2 separate regions of the Homo sapiens genome follow, and region 2 is linked to region 1. Evidence: promoter capture Hi-C in human tissues and cell types (Jung and others, 2019). All regions are on one chromosome and are shown on one strand. Each heading gives the region's core, a stretch centred on a gene start or on the middle of the fragment in contact. The rest is flanking DNA. Distances are from core to core; before and after follow the strand shown. Region 1 holds the start of BARX1 (BARX homeobox 1). Region 2 overlaps WNK2 (WNK lysine deficient protein kinase 2).

Region 1 (5,625 bases), core at 1,696-4,195:
AAGGAGTGCAGGGTCCATATGAGGAAATGGTGGGGAAATGTCCCGGGAAATGGCGGCCATTTGTCCAAATGCCGCCTGGGGAGCGGCCCGGCCTGGGGAGCATAAGACTGCCAGGAGGCCTGAAGGTGCCGCGGGAAAGGACGAAATGTTGGCTTACCCAAGGGGCAGAAAAAACTGAGAGGATTCCGGTGCGTACCAGGCACCGAGGGAATCGGGGGGTTGGGCAGAGTCTCAGTGGGGAGAAAGAGGAGAGCAGCTCTGCATGCACCGGGGCATGGCCCAGGAAGCTGAGGGGTGGGAAGCCACCAGGCACACTCACTATTTTCTTCCACTTCATCCTCCGATTCTGGTACCACGTCTTCACCTGCAACTGGCTCAGGCCCAGGGACTCAGCAAGATCTATTCTGGAAAGAGCAGGGCGCACCCTCAGCAAGGCAAGTGACCACACTCCCACAGCCCGCTGGCCCCAGCCTTGTACCGCCCTACCTGTCCGGCGTGGAAAGGTACTTCTGCTTCTCGAAGCGTTTCTCCAGGCCCATCAGCTGCAGCTCGGTGAACACAGTGCGGCTCCGACGCCCCTTCTTGGCTTTGGTGCCTGGCTCCCCAGGGCCTGCCGCCTCCAGCTTCCCGCGGAGCTGCAACTCGAGCGGCAGGTGTGGCGCACCCGCGGCGCCGGGCAGCCCGGGCCCTGCCGCCAGCAACGCAGAGCTCAGCCCTGAACAGCCCAGCGGCGCCAGTGGGAACTTGAACACCGCCGCCTGCTCGGCCTTCAGCACGGCTGCGAAGAAAGAGAATGAGGACCCGGGTGAGCTACGGCCGCGCTCCTCTGCCCCAGGGACTGCCGCACCACGTGCCGCGGGGGTGCTCGCGCTTGGCCAGTGCCTCCCAGCGCAAAACCTCCACGCCCTGCCGGTCGGCGCCGGTGGCGCAGATGGAGACCCTCCTCAACGTTGCCGTTCCCCAGATTTGGGAGGGAGTATCTCCTCGACCCTGTCCGTGTTCTGTCCTGGAGTTCCCCAGGCCTCAGCTGCCTCTGAGATCTCGGGGTTCCTGATGAACATGTTTGCAGCTGCGAGAAACTCGGAGTGTGTCTTGTCTTTCGGGGAAAGTAGAAACCAAAAAGAAAACGGCAGCTGGTCCTAAGAAGATGGCGTTTGCTCCAACCAAATCAGCCTTGCTGCGTTAGAAAAAGAACATGCACGGAGCGTGCACATTTGCTCTTCCGTGCGTGGCACAACAGCCATGCGGTGGCCAGGAGTCATCTGGGCCGGAGTTGGGTGCTTCCCGGAAATTCCAAAGTACCCTGAGAACCTGGAAATTATTGTTCACGTTTTCTATTTTCAGACGCTTCCCCATGCAGATGTTTCCATTTTCTTCAGTCCTAAAATGATTGTGTGCCCGCTTCAAACGAATTAGTAGCAACAGAGCAGATGGAGACGAAAGGTAGCCGAATGGCCGAGTCCCAGCTGGACTTAGAAGGAGCGCGCTGGCCCTGCCGTCTCCAGGCTAGGGAGCACCGACTAGGAGGTGGGGGGGTGCAGGGAAGGCGACTTGAAGGGCTGGGGTCCCGGCTACAGCGTAGGAGCCTCCCTTCCCCGACAGGCCTGTCACTGAGGTGCGAGTCCTAGCCTGGCTGGAGTCGGAAAGGGCAGGGCAAGGCGCAGGTAAATGTGGGGCAGAGGACCCGTAGGGAAAAGGTGGGAGATGGGAGGCAGGCCGACCCCAATGAGAGAAGCGAGGGAGGCCGACCGGCAGACGGTTGGAAAGCGAGATAGGGAAAGACAAGACGAGGGTGGAGTGCGATGGAGACAGCACCATCAGGGCAGAGCAGGCCCCGCCAAATTAGAAGAAAGGGCAGAAGCTGAAAAGGTCTGCGCAGGCCGTTCAAGCCCTGCAGAGGCCCAGCCGACCTGAAACCAGAAGGGACAGCCAGGCAGCTGCTCACAGTCAGGCCTCTGGCCCCAAGGCAAGGCCGAAGCAGGTCCGCACTGCGGCCAAGGCCGCGTTCCTCGCCCGCTGGAGCTCCCGGGGACTCCGGGCCGGCTTGGGCCCGCGTCAGCACCCAGCCCTCGGGAGCGCAGGCCTCCTCCCCAGAGGTCCGACTTCCCTGGGTTGGGCAGCCGCGGCCACTCCCGGCCATCCCTCTGCGGCGAAGCCCAGGCGCCCGTGGCCTGAGGTCGCTTCCACCCACGAGAGTCCGTAGCCTGGCAGTGCGCCTGCACTGGGGATGCTCACTCGGGGTCCCCGGGCTGGAGGCCGAAGGGAAGCAGTGAAGGAAAGAGCGAACACCCTCCCCGGGCGGCCCGCGGGCACGAGGCCTGGTTTCTGTGAGGCCTGGAGCTTGCACCCTCCGCCTCCCGCCTGGAGGGCTCCGAGAGACGGTCCCAGAACCTGCGCTCCCAGAGCAGCTTCCCGGGGCTGCTTCGATGCCGGAGGAGGCTCGGGGCGCCCCCGCGGTTCAGCTCGCTGTCTCCCGCCAAGCCCGGCCCGCGACCCCGCGGCCGCCACACGTACCCAGGTGGCTGTGGAAGGGCCGCGCCGCCAGCAGCGCCTGCACGCCGAACTTCAGCAGCTCGCCCGCCGCGGCAGCGGCGGCTGCGGGCGCGGCGCCCTTGGGCCCGGGTGGCTCCGTGAGGATCTCCTCAATCATGAAGCTGCGATAGCGGTGCGGCCGGTGGTCCGCGCAGCCCTCGGGCGGGCCGAAGCGCGCGGCGCCCGGCTCCCCCGGCCGCTGCATCGCGGCGCCCACTGCTGCGCCCGCGGTTTGGCGGCGGCGGCGGCGACGGCTTGGCTCCGGCGCGGGGCCCGCGCGGGGCTCTAGGCCGGCCCGCAGCTCGGGGCGGCGCGCGGGCGCCGGCTCATGCCCCCTCCCCCGCCGGCCGGCCGGGCGGAGGCGCAGGGCGCGGGCGGGGCGCGCGGGGCTCGGCCGGTCGAACCCGGGACTGCGCCCCCTCCCCACGCCGCCGCGCCTCTTGCCCGGCCAGCCCCGCGTCACCGCCCCGCCCCGCCCCGCCCCGCGCCGCCGCCCCCAACCCCTAGGCTGAGCCGGAGGGAGGGACCCAGAAGGGAGGGAGGCGGAAGGGAGGCCAAAAAGGAGGGGGCCACGTGAAAGAGGCCGGCCGACCGAGACCGAGGGAGACTGAGCGGAGCGCACGCCCTGGAAGGAGAGAGCCGGAGAGTTCGGGAGGCAAGACCCCCAGAGACGAGAGTCGGAGGGATCAAACGACACAGGTGAGAGAAGGGGCAGAGGCAGACGGCGTGGGCCAAACAAGATTCCAGACAGTGATGTGAGGGCACCAGAGACGCCACCGAGATGTGCGCAGAGAGACCAAAAGAGGCGTGAGAGCCAGCGGGCTGTGACGTGACGGAGGGCACAGAGGCAGGCGGGGCAGAGGAAGGGGGCGGTAAAGAAATGGGAACAGCTAGAAAACCGGCGGCTTGATCGGCTTTTAGGTAGCCCCGGAAAGGTCGGGAGGAGGAGGGGCAAAGGCCGCGCTCCTCAGCTGGGAAGGAGGTGGTCTCAAGCAGCCTCCAGTCCCGGGCTCAACACCGCCAACCCGGCAAGGGTGAGGCAGCGTTCAGGGATGCAAGGGGCAGAGCGGTAGCGGCACCTGTGCACCCCTCCCACCTCTGCCTCAGTTTACCATGTACGGCCTCATTTCTCTCCGGGCTGCCCTGAGAGAAAAATGTTCTCCAGCCGAGATTTGCTTGAATTGGAAATTCAAGTGATCCATGGACACATCCTCCTTGACAGCCCCCAGAAGACTGTAGGCTGGTTACATCCCCCTAGTTAGAAAAGGAAAAGGATTCGAGGAGAAGGGAAGGATGCAGCTTTGCCTTTTCCCAGCTTTGGGGCATCAAGAAACTGTTACTGGGCGGAGTTGGGGCCAGGGGGCCAGTGGGTGCTCTGAGAGTGTAAAGACCAAACTCTGGTGGGACCTGGCTCCATTGCGGAGCCTCAAAAGCTCCAACATGGTGGAGGAAGTTGGCAGTACCTTCTCTAGATCTTTCTTTCCATCCTTAGAAGAGTATAAGCCCAAGCCGTGGAGTGAACAACCCCAAAGCTACCCTACGCTGAACTCCTCTCTTTGGTCCTGCCACTACTGGTGAAACCACTGACCCTTTCTGGGCCTGTTTCCTTACCTGTCCTGAGGAGATGCTGACCTTTGGCTCCAGAGAGACTGTGAGAACTCAGTGAGGGGGTCCTGCACTCCGAGGGTCCTGCACCCTGGGAGCCCTTAGGTCTGTTTGGAGAGAAAACAGTTCCTCCAGGCAAGAGGGGAGAAGTGTCCCCAGGAGGTTGGGGGAGGAGCATCTGCCCTCCTCCTTCTCAGGAATCACAGGGCCTACCTCCTAGCCCCATCCACCATTGCCAGTCAGCGCCTGATGCACTGGGGGTGTCCTGGGCCACCCGGACTTCCTCTGTGAGCTCCATGTGGGGCCTCAGTCTTTACCTCAGGTAACTAGGGCTTACCACACCTACAGCCATGCCCCCCACCCAAGTTGAAGTCCTTTCTCCAGCTCCAGCTGCTGGTGGGGAGGCCTTCAGGCTGGCCCTCAGTCCCTGGCACCTGCCCCAGACTCGGGAGTGGGGGTGGGGGGCAGGTGGGGACTAGGAAGTGGCCCAGATCCTTTGTCTGTAGGGCCTGGAGTGAGGACAAAGACTACCTTACTCTGGTAAGATCCCAGTCCCAAGAGCCCACTGTCTCTCCTTCCCAGTTGTTGCATGACTTTCTGAACTCAGAGTTACCATTGGGACTGAAAGAAGGTGGCCTCAATGGCCGCCAGTTGCTTCGGACTCCCTCGGAGAGTGGTGCTGTGAGCCTACATGGTTCTTTGGAAAGGGTGGAGAGGGGCGCACTAAGAGCAACAGTATCCCACACTGAGCAGGCCTCCTCCTGAGAGACCAAGAGACCAGGAAGCTGGCCCTGTCGCTGTTGGCCAAGCAGCCACTGACATCCTACCTGGCAAATAGAAACAAGCCAGTGTCTCCTGGGAGGCTGGGGCAGCCCAGTCAGGCTCCCCCTATCAACGGGTAGACTCAGAGAACCCTCCCTAGATGAGTGCAATAGTATCACTCAATCCAACCATCTCCTTTTTCAGATGGGAAACTGAGGCCCAGCAAGAGGCAGCCCTGGTGCAGGGACTCCAGTGAGTAGGGCTGGTTTACTATTGCTTCTTGTACAGAGCCATATCAAGCTCCTTTTTCCGGCTTCCTCCCTCACCTCCCCCATCTTAGCAGGGCCCCTGCCCCTTCCTCACCCCCTGGCTTCTGCATCTCCCTAAGGGCATAGCCTAGTGGTGGTTTCTCCCCTGAGTAGGCCCAGCTAGCCTCTGTCCCATCCCCTGTTATTTGGGCCCTAACAGAAGCTACCCAAATTTGAACCATCTCTGCCCCATGCTCAAGACCTGAGGGTCTCACATCCTCAAAATGGGTCCCCAGATTCCAGATCCAAGGATTTGGGGATCACACTGTTCATCAGCTGTCACTAAACTTATTTTACTATGAGCCATCCCCCTGGGGTAGCTTCTTGGTCAGCTTGTGGGGAAGGGGGTCATTTTCAGGATGGAGGCCTCATCTCTAGATTTTGGGGAGTCAAAAGAGTAGTGCAGCCCAGCCCTCAC
Region 2 (5,899 bases), core at 3,003-5,502, 640 kb before region 1:
TTGATATCCTCATTGTGTTCCTCTGTGATTTTCCTGACTTCCTGTAGTTCTGTGTCCATGGCTTCCTTCAGTTCTTCGAGCACATTTAAGACAGTCGGTTTAAAGCCTTTGTTTACTAAGTCCAATGTCTAGGCTTCCTTGGGCATGTTTTTGTCAGTTAAATATTTTCCTTTGAATGAGTCATACCTTCCTGTTTTATTTGCTTTAGATTTTAGGTCACTAAATTTTTCTTTGTGTCTAAACTGCTGTTAAACCTATCCATTCAGTTTTTAATTTGGGTTATTGTGTTTTTCAGTTGAATTTTTTTTTAACCGTATCTCCTGTATCTTTAAAAAAAAAAAAAAGTTTCTGACTCTTTACCAAAATTCTCTATCTTGTATCTCCTTCACATAATATTTTTTAGTTTTTGTTTGCTCTTTGTCCTAGTTTTTCTTTATATTGCCTTGTCTTTTCTTGTGACTTTTTAAATATTCTGTGTAGGACATTGTAGTTGAAATTGTATTTGCAAAAAGAATTTGAGGTCTAGTAATAGGTTTCTCATTATTGTTTAATTTGCCTTAGAGCAAATTAAACAATTTTCATATTCTTATATTTTCATATTCTTATCAGCCGTCTTTTAAAAAGTGCCTGGTCAAGGATAGTGACCATTTAAAAGTTGATTTGTTTAACTTTTTATTATTGATTTGTGGGAGTTCATCATATATCTTTTGTCATATACAAGGGGGCTTCCAAAAGTTCACAGAAAAATGGAATTAAAAGATAAAAGTAAGAAATATATGGCTGGCCATGGTAGCTCACACCTGTAATCCCAGCACTTAGGGAGGCTGAGGCAGGTGGATTGATTGAGTCCAGGAGTTCAAGACCAGCCTTTGCAATATGGCAAAACCTCATCTCTACAAAAAATATAAAAATTAGCTGGGCTGCTGGGTGCAGTGGCTCACGCTTGTAATCCCAGCACTTTGGGAGGCTGAGGCGGGTGGATCACCTGAGGTCAGGAGTTCAAGACTAGCCTGGCCAACATGGTGAAACCCTGTCTCTACTAAAAGTACAAAAAAAAAAAAAAAATTAGCCCAGCATGGTGGTGGGCTTCTGTAATCCCAGCTACTCAGGAGGCTGAGGCAGGAGAATCGCTTGAACCTGGGAGGCAGAGGTTGCAGTGAGCCGAGATTGTGCCATTGCACTCCAGCCTGGGCGACAAGAGCAAAAGTCCGTCTCAAATAAAAATAAAAAAACAGCTGGGCATGGTGGTGCATACCTATAGTTACAGCTACTAAGGAGGCTGAGGTGAGAGGATCGCTTGAGCCCAGGAGGTCAAGGCTGCAGTGAGCCGAGATAGTGCCACTGCACTCCAGCCTGGCGACAGAGCAAGACCCTGTCTGAAAAAAAAAAAACAGCTGGGCATGGTGGCACATACCTATAGTTACAGCTACTAAAGAAGAAATACACGCTTTTTTCTTAACACAAGCACCATCAAGTTCAAGACACTTATAAGCAATGATGCCAGCCATTTATAAGCAATGATGCCAGCCATTTATAAGCAATGATGCCAGCCATTTAGTCCCTCCCTAAAGACCTAATGGTCCTGGGAATTTAACCATGGCCATGGAGTCTTTTTTACATTATTAATTGACAAAAAATGGGTGCCCTTTACAGATGTTTCAAAATTAGGAAGCAAAAAGAAGTCAGAGGGAGCCAAATCAGGACTGTAGGGTAGATGCCTGATGATTTCCCATGGAAACTCTTGCAAAATCACCCTTCTTTGGTGAGAGGAACGAGCAGGAGCATTGTCGTGATGGAGATGGACTCTCTGGGGAGGCTTTCCCGGGGGGGGTTTTGCTGAAGCTTTGGCTAACATTCCCTAAACATTCTCATACTAAGCAGATGTTACATTCCTTGTTACCCCTCCAGAAAGTCAGCAAGCAGAATGCCTTAAGCATCCCAAAAGCTGTTGCCACAATGTGCTCTTGACTGGCCCACTTTTGCTCTGATGGGACCACTTCCAGCCCTCAGCACCATTGCCTTGACTGCACTTGGTCTTCAGGACCATACCAGGAAAGCCACGTTTCATGTCGCTATAGTTCAAAGAGAGCTTCAGGATCTCCATCCCACTTGTTCAAAGTTACCACTGACAGCTCTGCTCTTCTCTGCGCCTGATGTGGGCGCAATGGGTTTGGCACCCATTGAGTGGAAAGTCTGCTCAACTTTCATTTTTCTGTCAGAATTGTGTAAGCTCAACCTACTGAGCTGTCTGTGGTGTTGGCCACTATTTCTGCTGTTAACCACCCGTCCTCTGCACTTACGGCTCAGACCAGATGAGTGTTTTCCTCACAAAGTGATGCGGATGGCCTGCCGCTGTGGGCTCCGTCTTCAGCATGGTCTCATCCCTTCTTAAAACAAGTCAACCATTTGTAAACTGCTATTTTCTTTGGGGACATGGACCCTGTAAACTTTTCAGAAAGCATCAGTGATCTCACCATTCTTCCACCCAAGCTTCACCATACATGTGATGTTGGTTCTTGCTTGGCAGAATTCACGTTATTGTGATAGGGGCTCTTTTCAAACTGAAGTCTTCTCCTTCTTAGTGCCTCAGACTACCTCCTCTTCAGACATGCTGCAATAAGTTAGTACAAGTTTATTTGGGTACAAAGATTTTTTTTGAAAGTCATGCATAGTTTTTTCATGGTATGTCTTTTCCATGAACTTTTTGAAGACCCCTTGTGTGTGTGTGTGTGTGTGTGTGTGTGTGTGTGTGTGTGTATATAATGGATATAGTCTACCAATCTGTGGTTTGTGTTTTCACTTTCTTAATGGTGAACATGAAATGGTAAAAATTTTAATTTTTTTTTTCCTAAAAGCTTTGCAGCTTTAGCTATTGCTTTAGATCCCATGAGCCATCTCAAATGAACTCTTGAGTATATTTTGATGCAGAGGTAAATCTGTTTTTTTCCTCTCTGCATATCTGATCGTTCCAGCCCCTTCCTCTCCATATTGAATTGCACTGAATTGAGCAGACATTCGTCAAGTGGTCGTCTGTGTGTAGGTCCATTTCTGAATTTGCTATTTTGTTTGCTTTAGCAATTCCCTTATCATTGTGGCAACACCACACTCTCTTCATGACTGAAGTTTTCTAGGAAGTTTAATCTTTGCTCAGGAAAGACTTTCAGTGTTGATCTTCTTCAAGAAGTTCTTGATTTTTTTCAGGTCGTTAATATTTCCATATGTTTTAGGAACAGCCTGTCACTTTCTGCAGGCTAGCCCACTGGGATTTCGGCTGGGAGTGGATTCAGTCTGTTGATTATCTGGGTGAGGTTTGACATATGAACAACATGAGCGTTCCTGTGAATGTAGTGTCCGTTTACTGGCATCTTTTTTGTTTCTCTGCAGTGTAAAGATGTTATACCTCTTTCATTAAATTTATCCCTAGGTAGCTGATGTTTTGGAATGCTATTATAAATGTTATTTTTCTTTAAATCTCCTTTTCCAGCTTCCTGTTGCTAGAATATAAAACTATGGTTGACTTTCGTACCCCATATCCTGCAATTGTGCTAAATTTGCTATTAGTTCTAGAAATTGGTTTGTCCATTCTTGTGGGTTTTCTGCATACACAGTCTTGTCATCTGCATGAGGCCAGTTCTCCTTCTCTCTGTCCAGTCTGTGCGGTTGACTCCTTTTCCTCCCCGCCTGGAGATCCCCGTGGTGTCGACTGGAAGCATGGAGGCACCTTGGGGAGGTATTGGGCATTTTGTCGTGGGCAGGGGCTCAGCTGTCGGTTCCATAGAGGACCTTCCAGATAAGGAGGCCCCTCCAGCCCCTGACTGCCGAGCTTGATTTCCAGGAAGGGTTGTGGAAGTCACCGAGTGCCCTCCATGCACCTGTGAAGAGTGCCCAGTGGGGCCCTCCCTGGAGTGGAGAGGAGTGACTCCCCGTGGCCAGCAGCCTTGCCTTCCTGGGGCACACCCCGCATACAGCTTCTCCCCGGGCTGGGACAGTGGAAGGGCTGCCTTGCCATCACCTCCCTGCACACTTGCTTTGCCCAGGTCCTGGGGCTCTGCTCCTGCCAGCTCCTGGGTGGTTCATGCTCCTGTGAGGGCACTGACCAGCCAAGCAGGAGGGCTTTGTGGTGGCTGAGTAGAGGCATGTGGGGTCACTCATGCGCCCTCAGGGTCCAGGCCCCACTAGTCCTCCTCCAAGTCCCATTTTGGCTGGTGGACACCCAGGTGTGTGGCCTAGAGGCTATCAGGCTGCAGCTTGGGGAAGCAAACAAGGGAGGGTGATGGTTCCTGGCCCCACACCATCATTCTGGTGTCAGCCCTGAGAGGGTGCCTGTCACAGCAGGTTCCAGGACTGCTGCCTCCTGAGGATGGAGAAACTGTGGCACCCTGGGGGCCACTAAGGGAGGCCAGCTGATTGCAGCCACGTGTACCTTCCTCTTCTCGTCTCTGTGTTTTGTAGATGACCGCACCTCGAGCAGGAGTGGGGATGCCACGTCTGCCCCCAGCGCCCGGCCCTCTGTCCACCACGGTCATTCCCGGAGCCGCCCCGACCCTGTCCGTGCCCACACCAGGTACTGCCCTCTCCAACCTCCCAACCCCACCCTGTGCGCTGCCTCTGGGTCAGTACAGAGGCCTGCTCCCAGCTCCAGTGTCCTGGGGGCCCTGGGCAGGCCAGGTGGGCCAGCTGGGGGCACAGGGCAGCTGGAACACCCCCCAGGTGCCCGTGCTGCCAGTCTTCTTGCAGCCACCTGTGGTCAGCATGCCTGGCCCCCGGCTGCGGATCACGTAGCCTTCTGCCCTGTCCCTTGCCAGATGGCGCCCTCGGAACCGCCCGGAGAAACCAGGTGTGGTTTGGCCTCCGAGTCCCCCCCACCGCCTGCTGTGGGCACAGCACTCAGCCGCGAGGGGGACAGCGGGTGGGCAGCAAGACTGCTTCCTTTGCGGCTTCAGACCCTGTTCGCTCCTAGGTTCCTGTGGTCCACGCGCCGTCTCCACACCCACTTCCTATACTTGAGTTGATGGTTAGAACCTTGTCGTCACCCTGCAGAAGTACAGTGCCTTGAATGCCAGCTTTTCCGTTCCCTGATGAAAAGATATGTTAAAAAAAATTATCGGAAAAGGTTTCATTTGCAATTGGCTTGTGCATTGATAATCTTTATTTACTGTTTTAAGTTGCAGAGATGTGAATGGTTTACAAATCTGAAGCTGAAGTTCAATCTTTGGTTTTCTGTTGTAAATGCCTTTTACAAACATTGAATTAGCTACCTTAAGTATTGAAGAGCTTCCATTGCTAGGTGAGCCCTGCTTTGTCCTCAGTAGAGTGCCGGTTCCCTGGGCTCATCCAGGGGCTGAGAGACGGCGGGACGCTGGGGCAGGGCACACTGGCGGAGCTGCTTGCTCAGTAGGGAATGTCAGTTGTTGCGCTGGGCCATGAGAAATCCGCCAGAAAACGTTAGGTGAGCAGACATGCCCCCCATGCCAGTGGGCTGCTGTGAGTGAGGATAAGGTGTGTGTTGGGCATAGAAACCCTGGCTGCCCGCCCACCCTGTGGAGACAAGTGCAGCTCCTCCAGCTGGAGAGGCTGCCCTCTCTCCTGCCCACTTCCCTCCCTTCTCCATGATTTCCATGGAGACCTGTGGCTCTGCTCACCCCTGGCATGCAGACCGCTCTCCCGTCCAGCCCTAAGCCTGCTCTGCGGAGGGCGGGGTCATTCTTCTCCTGGAGATTTCAGTGGGACTCGTCCCCAGTGGGCACAACACAGCCCTTGGTGGGAGGGGAAGGCCCCAGCCTCCTCCACCTCCCACTGGAAAGCAGACTGCTTGGGACTGCCCAGCTGTGAATTGTATAGTTTCTGTACTTATTAGAACTGGGTAAATTATTTTGGTTCAAATCTATTATTCCATCAA

Evidence for each region. The method cuts DNA at HindIII sites, captures the fragments that hold promoters and counts their contacts. A contact is called where the count stands out against the background at its distance.
Region 2: a contact is called between a fragment that was not itself captured here and the fragment with the promoter of BARX1 in region 1, in 1 of the 25 tissues and cell types used here (lymphoblastoid cells).

The regions. Positions count from the first base shown.
Region 1 is chr9:93,952,410-93,958,034 of GRCh38, forward strand. BARX1 (BARX homeobox 1) reads right to left here and starts at 2,946. Exons shown (of 4, transcript NM_021570.4): 1 at 2,515-2,946; 2 at 487-778; 3 at 320-404. The coding sequence starts at 2,737. BARX1-DT (BARX1 divergent transcript) reads left to right here and starts at 3,425. Exons shown (of 2, transcript NR_144455.1): 1 at 3,425-4,459; 2 at 5,104-5,513. LOC124902216 (a long non-coding RNA gene) reads left to right here and starts at 3,117. Exons shown (of 3, transcript XR_007061672.1): 1 at 3,117-3,231. RefSeq lists enhancers at 400-964, 965-1,528, 2,940-3,471, 3,472-4,002. The HindIII fragment of the contact is 32,678 bases long and covers 1-5,625 here.
Region 2 is chr9:93,313,068-93,318,966 of GRCh38, forward strand. It overlaps WNK2 (WNK lysine deficient protein kinase 2), which reads left to right. Exons shown (of 30, transcript NM_006648.4): 29 at 4,453-4,564. Among named protein-coding and RNA genes, the nearest start is that of WNK2, 130 kb to the left of the region's middle. The HindIII fragment of the contact is 4,172 bases long and covers 2,167-5,899 here.